Regions from separate parts of the Homo sapiens genome. Here regions 1 and 3 are each linked to region 2. Evidence: promoter capture Hi-C in 16 types of primary human blood cells and fetal thymus (Javierre and others, 2016). All regions are on one chromosome and are shown on one strand. The core of a region is centred on a gene start or on the middle of the fragment in contact, and the rest is flanking DNA. Distances in the headings are between cores, read along the strand shown. Region 1 overlaps RNF121 (ring finger protein 121). Region 2 holds the start of XNDC1N (XRCC1 N-terminal domain containing 1, N-terminal like). Region 3 overlaps NUMA1 (nuclear mitotic apparatus protein 1).

What was found. Contacts are between HindIII fragments. The CHiCAGO score rates a contact against its expected background, and 5 or more counts as called.
Region 1: a contact is called between a fragment that was not itself captured here and the fragment with the promoter of XNDC1N in region 2, in 1 of 17 cell types (total B cells). The highest score is 5.8, in total B cells.
Region 3: a contact is called between a fragment that was not itself captured here and the fragment with the promoter of XNDC1N in region 2, in 2 of 17 cell types (fetal thymus and non-activated CD4 T cells). The highest score is 6.2, in fetal thymus.

What each region holds. Positions count from the first base shown.
Region 1 is chr11:71,991,077-71,994,603 of GRCh38, reverse strand. The region is part of intron 6 of RNF121 (ring finger protein 121); the gene reads right to left. Among named protein-coding and RNA genes, the nearest start is that of IL18BP, 6.1 kb to the left of the region's middle. RefSeq lists enhancers at 2,808-2,867, 3,048-3,097. The HindIII fragment of the contact is 1,494 bases long and covers 783-2,276 here.
Region 2 is chr11:71,926,398-71,930,048 of GRCh38, reverse strand. It overlaps XNDC1N (XRCC1 N-terminal domain containing 1, N-terminal like), which reads left to right and starts at 1,455. Exons shown (of 6, transcript NM_001375847.2): 1 at 1,455-1,684. It overlaps RNF121 (ring finger protein 121), which reads right to left and starts at 1,003. Exons shown (of 9, transcript NM_018320.5): 1 at 925-1,003. The coding sequence starts at 987. It overlaps XNDC1N-ZNF705EP-ALG1L9P (XNDC1N-ZNF705EP-ALG1L9P readthrough), which reads left to right and starts at 1,455. Exons shown (of 11, transcript NR_172895.1): 1 at 1,455-1,684. RefSeq lists an enhancer at 1,313-1,622. The HindIII fragment of the contact is 13,024 bases long and covers 1,190-3,651 here.
Region 3 is chr11:72,037,293-72,041,036 of GRCh38, reverse strand. The region is part of intron 2 of NUMA1 (nuclear mitotic apparatus protein 1); the gene reads left to right. Among named protein-coding and RNA genes, the nearest start is that of NUMA1-AS1, 25 kb to the right of the region's middle. RefSeq lists enhancers at 1-244, 725-804. The HindIII fragment of the contact is 1,004 bases long and covers 749-1,752 here.

The sequences.
Region 1 (3,527 bases), core at 280-2,779, 64 kb before region 2:
CCAGAGTTAGAGGACATCTTTTTTTTTTTAAACTGTTTAGAAAAGGTAATCTTTTACAAGTCAAATCGACCTCATCTTTGCTGGGCAGATGGGGAGAAGTGACCAGACTAGAGACAGTTGGGAAGTTAGATGTAACAGAACCTATAAACTGGGCTGGATCAGCACCAAAGGATAAGGGGAAGGGGAGGGAGAAGGACTTGGGGCTGGTGATCAAAAGCTGTGTCAGGCAAGCCATTCTGTCGCCAGACTATGGTTCCACCAGAAATGGACAACAATATTCTCCAACATTTAAAACAGTGAAATATTAAGTGCCATGTTGGTTTGGTGACAAGGGCATTCTCAGACATTTGTGGCAGCAGCAAAAGGGGTTCAAGCCTTTCAGATAGGATTTAGCATGGTATCTCAAATTGTTGCACCTTTTGACCCATTAATTTCACTTCAAGGAATTTAAAGAAATAAGAGGAGGCTGGGCGCGGTGGCTGACGCCTGTAACCCCAGCACTTTGGGAGGCCAAGGAGGGCGGATCACGAGGTCAGGAGATCGAGAGCATCCTAACTAACACAGTGAAACCCCGTCTCTACTAAAAATACAAAAAATTAGCCAGGCATGGTGGGGGGCGCCTGTAGTCCCAGCTACTCAGGAGGCTGAGGCAGGAGAATGGCGTGAACCCGGGAGGCAGAGCTTGCAGTGAGCCGAGATCGCACCACTGCACTCCAGCCTGGGCAACAGACCGAGACTCCATCTCAAAAAAAAAAAAAAAAAGAGGAAGTGTCAAAGAAGCTTCATGAATACAGATATTCACTTAAGCATTATCATAATTAAGAAAGCAAAGAGTTTGGCATGTCCTCAAAAAGTTAAACATAAAATTACCAAATGACCAAGCAATTCCATTCTCGGTATAAACCCAAAAGATATGAAACTAGGGACTAAACACACTTAAACGCCAGTGCTCACAGCGTTACTCACAGTAGCCAAAAAGTGGAAACAACTCAAGTGCCTATCCACAGATGAATGAATAAACCAAATGCGGTGTCACACACAATGGAATACTATTCAGCCATATAAAGGAATGATACATTCTATACATGGATGAACTCTGAAAACACTACGCTAAGTGAAAAAAGCCAAAGGGACAAATATTGTATGATTCCATTTACATGAAATATCTACAATAGGCATGTTCACAGAGATGGAAAGTATATTAGAGGTAAACCAGGGCTGTGGGAAGGGGTAATGAGTTACTGCTTAATGGGCAGAGTTTCTGTTTGGGATGAAGAAAAATTTTGGAATTAGACAGTGAAAATGTTGCAGAACACTGCAAATGTAATTAATGCATGAATTGTATACTTCAAAATGGTCAAAATGGTGACATGGTCTAGAAATCTCTTCTGGGGAGTAAACTGGTTAAAGGAAGATCCAATGTCTACACAAATAGGTAAGAGGGAAATGAAGGTAAAGCACAAGACAGTTGTTCAAAAAGGAACCTAATAAACTGTCAATAAAGTGATCCAATGTACTGTTTTCAATTTGATCCAGTAGAGAAAAAATTAGAATATTCCCATGATACTGAGGGACAAAGTCCCTGGCCTTAAACGGTACTAGATTAAAGTTACCCAAGGTGATGGAAATATTCCTTCTTGGGGTGGGGTCTTGGGGGATGACACTGAGACAGGGAGCACTTCTGTGTTGTTTAAATAATTACAAAGAGAACATACTACTTTTATAAACAGCAAAACAATAAAGATATATTTCCATTCTGAAAAAAAAAATAGAAATATTTACTTGCGTTTCTCAGATTGGCTGTTAATTTACCCATATTTAAGCATCTCTCCGTGATGTCCACCTGCTGCTCTTGCAGCATTTCCTATCTCAGTGAAAGGTACTACCATCCAAGCAGTTGCCGAATCAGAAATCTCAGCTTTGAAACCTATATTTCCTTTGTATTTTTCCCTTCAGTCTTCAGAACCAAACTATATCTAAGTCCAAAATACTTCTCAAATACAGTATGTCCTCACTTCACTGACAGTTTCTTGGAAACTGTGACTTTAAATGAAACGACATATAACAAAACCAATTTTACCACAGGCTAATTGATAGAAACAAGAGTTCAGTTCCTGTGTCATATTTCTGTCACAAAGACATCACTAAACCTCTATTTAAGAGACACCAAATTGTCTCTTAAGTAAAGACTCAAAACACTTTTAATATTAAATGTTGAAATGAAATGTGTAGCTTTACACATACAGTTAAAGATTAACAAAGCAAGTATGAAAGCTTCCCCAATTTTTGGTAAAGCAGTAAGTGACAGTGGCTGTTGTTGTAGCGGCTGTGGGTTAAATCAAGGAATAAGAGTTCACAAAGTAAAAATTGTAAGGAGCAACTCCTACCACTGTGCAGTTCAAAAACAATTACCAATATGGACTAAGCACTTTTGTGCCCCATCATTTATTGTTGTGCCTTTGCATGATTATTATACATTTTGTGAATTTTTACTTATTTAGAGACAACGTCTTGCTCTGTTGCCCAGGCTGGAGTTTGGTGGCATGAACAAGCTCACTGCAAGGCTCAAGTGACTTCCCACCTTGGTCTCCAAAGTAGCTGGGACTACAGGCATGTGCCACCACGCCCGGCTAGGTTTTTTTTTTTTTTGTCTCATTTTTTTGTAGAGATGGGGTCTCACTATGGTGCTCAGGCTGGTCTTGAACTCCTGGGCTCAAGCAATCTGCCTGCCTCAGCCTCCCAAAGTGAGCCACTGTGCCCGGCCCCTCCCAGGATTTTTAGCATAAAAATCAAAATCTTTAATTTGGCCCACAGGCTTTTTTCTAGTCTAGTCACTACTTCTCCAGGCACTTCTTGGCCATACAACCGCAATGGTCTTAGTTCCTCAAAAACACCCACACTTTCTCCCGTGACAGGACTCTTATGAATGCTCTTTCCTCTGCCTGGTTCTCACTTCATCCACTTAACTGCTATTCATTGTTCAAGTCAGCTCCATAGTCACTTCTTCAAGGAAGCCATCTTTGAGCCCCAAGACTAGGTCAAATGACACTACTACATGTGTTTACAGCATCATGAACCTTTCCTACATAATGCTTATTAAAGTTGTAATTTTATTTTTATCTGTGTTTGTTACTGTAATAGCCATCTCTCCCACCTAAGAGTAAAGTTTATCTGGGCAAAAACCATGTTTATTTTTGTACACTTTTGTAATTCTGGCATATAGCTATGTGTCTAGACACATAGCAGGCATTAAAAAGTATCTACTGAATGAATGTTAACTTCCTGCTGGATAAAGTGGCTCTTTCCTATAATGGCCCTAAAGAGAAAAATTATAGGGTACATCTGAGATCTGGCTAATTTTTTTTTTAATAATTTCAACTTTTATTTTAGATTCAGAGGGTACATGTGCAGGTTTGTTACATGGGCATACTGCGTGATACTGAGGTCTGGGGTGCGAATGATCCTGTTGCCCATGTAATGAGCACAGTTACCTAACAGATAGTTTTTCAACCGTTGTCCCCACTCCC
Region 2 (3,651 bases), core at 206-2,705:
ATTTTAATACACCAGTCTTTAAATGCCTATTAGATAGGTAAAGGGAACATACAATCTCAAGGAGCTCACCTTCAAGGAACTCATAAATCCAGAAGAAGAGAGAGACACTTATTTATCGTTTAAAACTCAGCAACTCCGGGAAGCCTTCCCTATCCCAAGCTGAAATGTTGCACACTTCTCAGTGCCACCATTATATCTCTAATGCAATGACTAGTCTTCTTGTCTGTCTCCCACCACTAGACTGTGGGCTCTTCAACGGAGGGGCCCCTTGTCTCCCTAGCACCTGGCCCAGAACCCGGAGCAAAAGTCATAATGTTTATTAAGTGAATAAATGCATGAATTCCGGCATACAATCATTTATTCATCCACTTGTTCCTTCATTCGTTGGCCAAAACTTTACTGAGCATGCATTAGATACAAAGTCTTAGAATGGAACGATAAATAAAACAGTTCCAACTTTAAGATAACTCAAAGCTATACTACTAGTGGATTAGCACTCTTTCCCGGTCTGTGTCCCCAACCCCCACCCTAGGCTTAGACAGAGTCCTCTCCCACAGTAGAAGCCCAGCCTTCCCCTGAAGAAATTCACGTCCCTCCAACTCAAACTACCTCTTAGCCCTTCGGTCCTACCCTAAGACACCCAGCTAGTAATCACAAAATCTTAACACCCCCACCCCTCCGACCTCTCTCTCTGTCCTCCATCTTCACCCTTGAGGCTAATGCAAGTCTTCTACTCCCAAGGCCGCCTCGGAGTCCCCAAGTCAGGAGTGCCTCTGACTTCGCTCTCCACGCACCCGCCCCCTAGTCAGCTCCTTCCCTCTCAGGATCTTTCCCTTCTCTCCTAAGACCCCCACCTCCCGATACCTCACTGCCCCTCCCCTCAGTCTCAGGTTGAGTCTCTCCTCGTCTCTCAACTCCGCTTACCTCATCCAGCTCCCGTTCCCCAGCAGCACCACCTCCAACCTCCACCTCCACCACTGCCGCCATCTTCACGGCTCGCCCCCTCACCGCAGTCCCCGCGCGAGCCAGCTGCTTCCGCTGCTCAAGTGCTCCTAGCCAATCGGCGGCTCGGACTCCAGCAGAGGGGGCGGGGCATCAACACAGGCGGAGACTGTCAGGGATCAGGAGGTTATCTACTTGCTGCACGTTTCAGGGTCAAGGAGAGGGGAGTACCGTGCCCTTGCAAGCTTCAGCAAGGGAGCGTTCTTGGAAAATGAGAAATTTGAATCGCATTATTTTCAGTGCAACTATTTAACCAATTCTTCCCTTTGGAGAGCCAAATGGGAGCGTTCCAAAACGGGCAACTTTCGCGACGCTCCCTCAGTCTGGGCTCCAAGGAGCGAGACGTGGGGACTAGGAACTACGTTTCCCAAGCTGCACTGAGGCTGACCCGGAAGTTTAAATTCCGCTCCCTCCACGAAAGAGTTGTAGTGAGTGAAAATAAATATTAAAACACACGGAAATGTATTTTCCTGGCTGCAGCACCTGCCATCTTGCCTCGGTAGGACTCATTTTCAAAAACAGCAGCTTCTTGAAGCCCCAGAACGCATTCCTGTGCTACGGAAGACGGAAGAGTAGCTCTCGGGGTCAGAAGGCGAAGGTCAGAAGGCCGAATTGGCGGGAGAATAGGTTTGGTGGTCCGAGATCCGAGGCAACGGTGGCTCCTCGAGGTCCACGGTCCCGGGTGAGGGGCGTTGGGATTTGTTGATGGGGAGGGGAGTGGCCGAGAGGGAGGAGGGTGGCCATCAAGGAAATGAACTGAGCAGCCTGTTCCCGATGAGCTGTGAAAGCAGCGGTGCGGCTTGAGCTCCCGAAACTGAGAGCTGAAGAGCCTTGCGGGACCTCCAGGGCACCCACATTCCGCGTCTTACTTAGGCTGTCATGCCAGTTCACACACCTCGGCACACTTTTCTAACCCACATCCTGCGGCCCCAGCTTCTGCCTTACCCTCCTTTTTATACACCATTCACTGTCCCACCCCTACGTATACCTTCATAACTGATTTTTCAGCAGCCGGTGAACTCGATACCTTGCAAGCCTGTAGCCCCAGCTCACACGCCTCTGGGCGTCCGCCTGGATCTGTCTGGTGAATGGAACTAGGATGGCCTGTGAGCCCACAGAACGTCTAGAAAAGTCAGCTTTACATTGGGACCAACAGAAAATTACAGGGAATTATCTACATCATCCACAGGCATCCCATTTACTTAAAAATAATCATTTTTATTTTGTGACACTTAATACGGAGAATATTGTAAATACTGTACACCCATCACCCTAAATTGACTACTGGCATTATGATTTATTTGCTTATTTTTTAAAAGCTAGATAATACAATAAAAGTTAAACTTACCTGTTTTTTCTACTCTCAAGCCTATTACCCTCTCATCCTCTCCAGAAGCAACTATTATGAATTAGAATTAGCTTGTGTTCTCCCAGTCCATTTTTAATAATTATATGTAGCCATGACTATATAGTATTGTATTGTGTTTCATTTTGTTTTTTAATCTGAGTGCTTTTTTTTTTTCTTTGAAACGGTGTCTCGCTGTGTTACCAAGGCTGGAATGCACTGGTTCAATCTGGGCTCACTGCAGCCTCCGCCTACTGGGTTCAAACGATTCTCATGTCTCAGCCTCCCAAATAGCTGGGACTACGTACGCGCCACCACGCCTGGGGAAATTTCATATTTTTAGCAGAGATGGGGTCATGGCCATGGTCTCGAACTCCTGACCTTAAGTGATCCACCCGCCTCGGCCTCCCAAAGTGCTGGGATTACAGGTGTGAACCACTGTGCCCAGCCTGAGTGATACAGGGTCCGGCTCTGTCGCCCAGGCTGGAGTGCAGTGGCGTGATAACTGCTCACTGTAGTCTCATCTCCCAGGCTCAAGCAATTCTCCCACCTCAACCTTGTGAGTACCTGGGACTATAGGCATGTGCCACCACACCTGGCTAATTTTTAAAAATATTTTGTGGAGATGGGGTCCCACTATGTTGCTGGTCTTGAACTCCTGGGTTCAAGCAATCCTCCTGAGCCTCCGCCTCCCAAAGTGTTGAGATTACAGGCGTGAGCCACTGTACCCAGCCTTTTAGGTATAATTATTTGTCTTTTATTTTATTTTATTTTATTTTATTTTATTTTATTTCATTTTTTGAGACAGAATCTCACTTTGTCACCCAGGCTGGAGTACAGAGGGGTGATCTTGGCTCACTGCAACCTTTGCCTCCCGGGTTCAAGTGATTCTCCTGCCTCAGCCTCCTCAGTAGCTGGGATTACAGGCATGTGCCACCACACCCAGCTAATTTTTGTATTTTGAGTAGAGACAGGGTTTCACCATGTTGGCCAGGCTGGTCTCAAACTCCTGACCTCAAGTGATCCACCCACGTCAACCTCCCAAAATGCTGGGATTACAGGTGTGAGCCACCACGCCCAGCCTAGGTATAATTTTTTAGATACGTTGTGAGGTAGGGATCTACTTTTATTTTTCTTCACATTGTCAACCAATTTCCTGAACATCATTTATTACTTTATTGTTTCTGACAGAATCATGATGCTGCTCTGAAGTGTGGGAGATCATGAACATGACAAAAATCCACATCCTCAAAGAGCTTGCTACTTAGTGAGAAGGCATACAGGGTAAACGAGTAATTACCAAA
Region 3 (3,744 bases), core at 1-2,500, 110 kb before region 2:
CCCTTCCTCCTCTCCTTTCAAGATTTAAATGCTAATGGCGGATTAAAACCTGTAGATACGTTTGGCTTTAGGAGTCTGGTAAGGCCCCCCCGCACCGAGACTTTTTCTCCCTCACTCTTTCTCTGGGTTTTTGTTCAAACATGGACGAGGGGGTGGGGTGGATTCTCCCCCCTCACCTCCCTTTCCTGCGCCATCCTTAAAGGGGAGGGAGAGAAGAGGGAGAGCAAGTAAACATACTCAGAAACAGGCGCTGTGGAGCAGAGCTTGCCAACATCCGGGAGTTGGCGCCTTTCAGAGCAAAGGGTTGCTTTCTTTCCCCCTTGCGTAGATGTCAGCATGTTTTTGTTCAGAGAAGGAAAGCGTGTTTGCCTGCACGTTGAGCTGTAGAGACAGCTCAGGAGAGGGCTTCACCATTTCTGCGTGAGGCCGTGGGTGTGTGCACGGTGGTGGGCAGTGAAAAAAGGTTCATTTTGTCAGCTGATAGGGACCAGGGTGTGTGAATATAGTGGTGGGGGGCCCAGGTCAGTGTGTGTGTGTGTGTGTGTGTGTGTGTGTGTGTGTGTGTGTGTGTGTGTGTGTGTGTGTGTGTGTATGTGTACGCGCCCCAGTACAATACATGGCTGCAGGCCTGGTTGCAGGTCTGGTTCCTGATTGCAGCTCTTTTGCCATCATCCTGATCTGGACCCTCCAGAGAACGGGGAGAAGGGGCAGACATCTGTAAGCCACTTTTGAAGAAACCAGAGAAGCTTGGTTTCCTCTGTAATCCCTCCCTTGTTCCTCTCCAGGGCTTTGGGGTTCTGTGCCAAACTCTAGGCTACAAAGATGGAGTGGTCTGTGTGAAGAGGAGGCTTCAGCCCAAGCTAGTCCCTTTAGATGGACCAAACTGGTTTGCCCCGACCTCAGGAAACTCTTTGGACTTGGACCAGACGGTCTACCCAGGACTCCCCAGGAATTGAGAAAGATTGTTTTTCTCTGTATGGCGTCTCTTGGAGCCACTGGTCCTCTTGCCTTTTATCTTCTCAGAGGCAGGGGATGTACCAGCAAAGTATTTCCTATGCTGTTTTTATAGCTTATTAGCCTAGGGCAAGGTGGCTTGGCCCCTCTGGGTAACCTGCCAGGTGAGATCTCGGTGTTTGCTTGCATGTGCCTCCTGGCCTATCCGTCCTAGAGTTGGAGGAGGAGGAGCCCCAAGATCAGGGTTTTCACTCTTTGGATGTGAGTGTCTCTCAGATGGGGAGTATCTTTCTAAGAAAGGGGTACAGAGCATGGAATTCTTAGGCTACAGGCAGGCAGCGTCTCAGGGTAAGTGGTGGTAAATTTTGCAAGTGAGCACTGGCGCACAGATGGGGCAGCCATTTCCTTTGTGAGCTGTGAGGCTGTAGGCCTTTGGAACTATCAGGTGGAGAAGGGGGTGGGGTTCTGGGAAGGACCCTTTGAGGTGGGAGCTTGTGTGGGCTTTGGGCCCTGAAATTCTGGGAGTGGGAGTTAGCACTAAGAGAATGAGGGTTCAGCAGAAGCAAGGGCCCATGAGCTGAGAGATCGGTATAGTTTAACAACTCTCTGGGACCAAAGGTCACTTTGGTGTTATCTTGAGGTAGGTCTGGTGTTCCCTTGATGGGCAGTAAGTGGCTAAGAGGCAGTCTCAAAGGAGCTGGCACCCAGGCCAAGGGCGGGGTAAGGAGAGCAGTGCTGCTGCAGCTCAGACCCTCTGGCCTTTGGCCTATCACTTGTTCTGTACTTAAAACTGAAGCTTTTTCAGAACAGACTTCAGAGCTCAGCAACTTGACCCTCTGGTCCTGCTTCTTGTGTCTGAGCAGGTGGTTTACATTAGCCTCAGCCCTGGTAGGAAATCATGGCTAGGCTTTAACTCTTTAAGGTCCAGAGAGGGTACAGGCAGAGTGGCTGCGTGTCTCTTTAGTGTCACTTTCCTTATCTTGATATTTATTTTCTGGAAACAGGGGTTACTGTAAATGTGGGAATTTGTCCTGATGTGGGGGAGCTGCATTGTGTCAGTTTGGGAAATGTAAAAAGGATGCAGGGCCTTAAGTTTATAACGCAACTGCTTCTGTGTCCTTGGTTACTTCTTGAGACCAGGGAAAAGAGAGGGTGCCTTACCAGCTCGGTGAGGCCTCTGTTTTAGATTCTGGGGGAATTTCTTTCTCAGAGAATCAGGTAGATGGGAACTCCAAAGGTGCCCTCAGAGGGCCTGGCCTTTTGTTTCTTTGTTTATTGAGTGAGGGTTGTGGGGGGGACGGGGGGTGCCTGATCCAGCTGGGGTGGATCTCAGCAGATCCTTCTGTGAAATGGTTCCAGGCTACAATCGCAAGGATCTGTTTTTCCATCAGCATCACCCAGTGTACTGGGTGGGGCCTGCCTCAGATTTCAGGGGGAGGGTGGGGAGGATGGTACTCTGGCTGGGAGCCCTTGGGTTCCCAGCCAAAGTCTGCTTAAAGCTATAGTCCCAATGTAGAAGACTTAGCTGTGCTCCTGGCTTCAGTCATTCCTTACCCAGAGAAGAGGGAATGGCTGGGGCTCTCCTGAAGCCTCTCTCACCCTGATGTTCTGTCTCTAGGAAAGTACCTCTTTACAGGCTTAGAACTGAAGAGCAGACAAGGTCCTTCAGGAGTTCCTAGTGGTGAATATTGGGTTCCTCGTATTTCTGTGCCTGGGGAACACAGAAAAGAATATTTAGCCTTGACACTCATTTTCTTGAACAGTGGAACTAGTTTTAGACAGGCTCTCCTGGGAGGACCTCAGGGTTGTATGTTTTGCCTCTGAGATGAAGAGGTTGGTTAAACCTCAGGACATTTTTAGTAGCACAGCTGTGAGTCTTTCAAAGGGGGCAAGATCTGCCTACAGTTGCAGATAAAATTTCGAAGTGTTGGGCCTCATCAAAAGGACTGCAAGTCTATAGGCAGCAGTGAGGATGGGGGAGCGGTGATCTCAGCCTCATTCCTTGTGATTTAATAGCTCAGAGGCCTTTTTTTTAAAGAAACCCCAGTTGAGTGTCTGGCTGTTGCCGCCCCACCACAGAGCCAAGTGTGGTCCCTCGAGCTTTAGTCTTGTCAGCCACAGAAAAGCCTTATTGCAGTGCAGTAGTTGGGGCTATCTGCATCCATCCATGCCTGGCCTCAAGGGCTACATAATCTTGCCCATGGATAGGGTATACTTGATGATAATTATCCAAGACTGAGGAACATAAGCCCCTTAGCTTTTCTGCCCTCCTGAGAGCTCTCTTAACCATTTCATTTGCCCTTGCCAAAGCCCAGGTGAATTGGCTCAATTCCAAGACTGATGCTGGTATGACATGTGGAATCATGTTGGATGTTGCAGGGTCAGGAAGCACTTAATTGTAATTAGCATTTAGTTATATTTAGCATTTAATTATTTTCTTCTGTTAGTGCTTCACATATGTTTAATTTTACTCCCTACCCTGCTATAAGCCCCTCAAAGGCAAGGACCATGTCATTGTCTCCCATTTTCCATGTGGCTTCTAGCACAGGATGATCTTTTTTTTTATTATTTTTTTTTGAGACGGAGTCTCGCTCTGTCACCCAAACTGGAGTGCAGTGGTGCGATCTCGGCTCACTGCAAGCTCCGCCTCCCGGGTTCACGCCATTCTCCTGCCTCAGCCTCCCGAGTAGCTGGGACTACAGGCGCCCGCCACCATGCCCAGCTAATTTTTTTGTATTTTTAGTAGAGACGGGGTTTCACCATGTTAGCCAGGATGGTCTCGATCTCCTG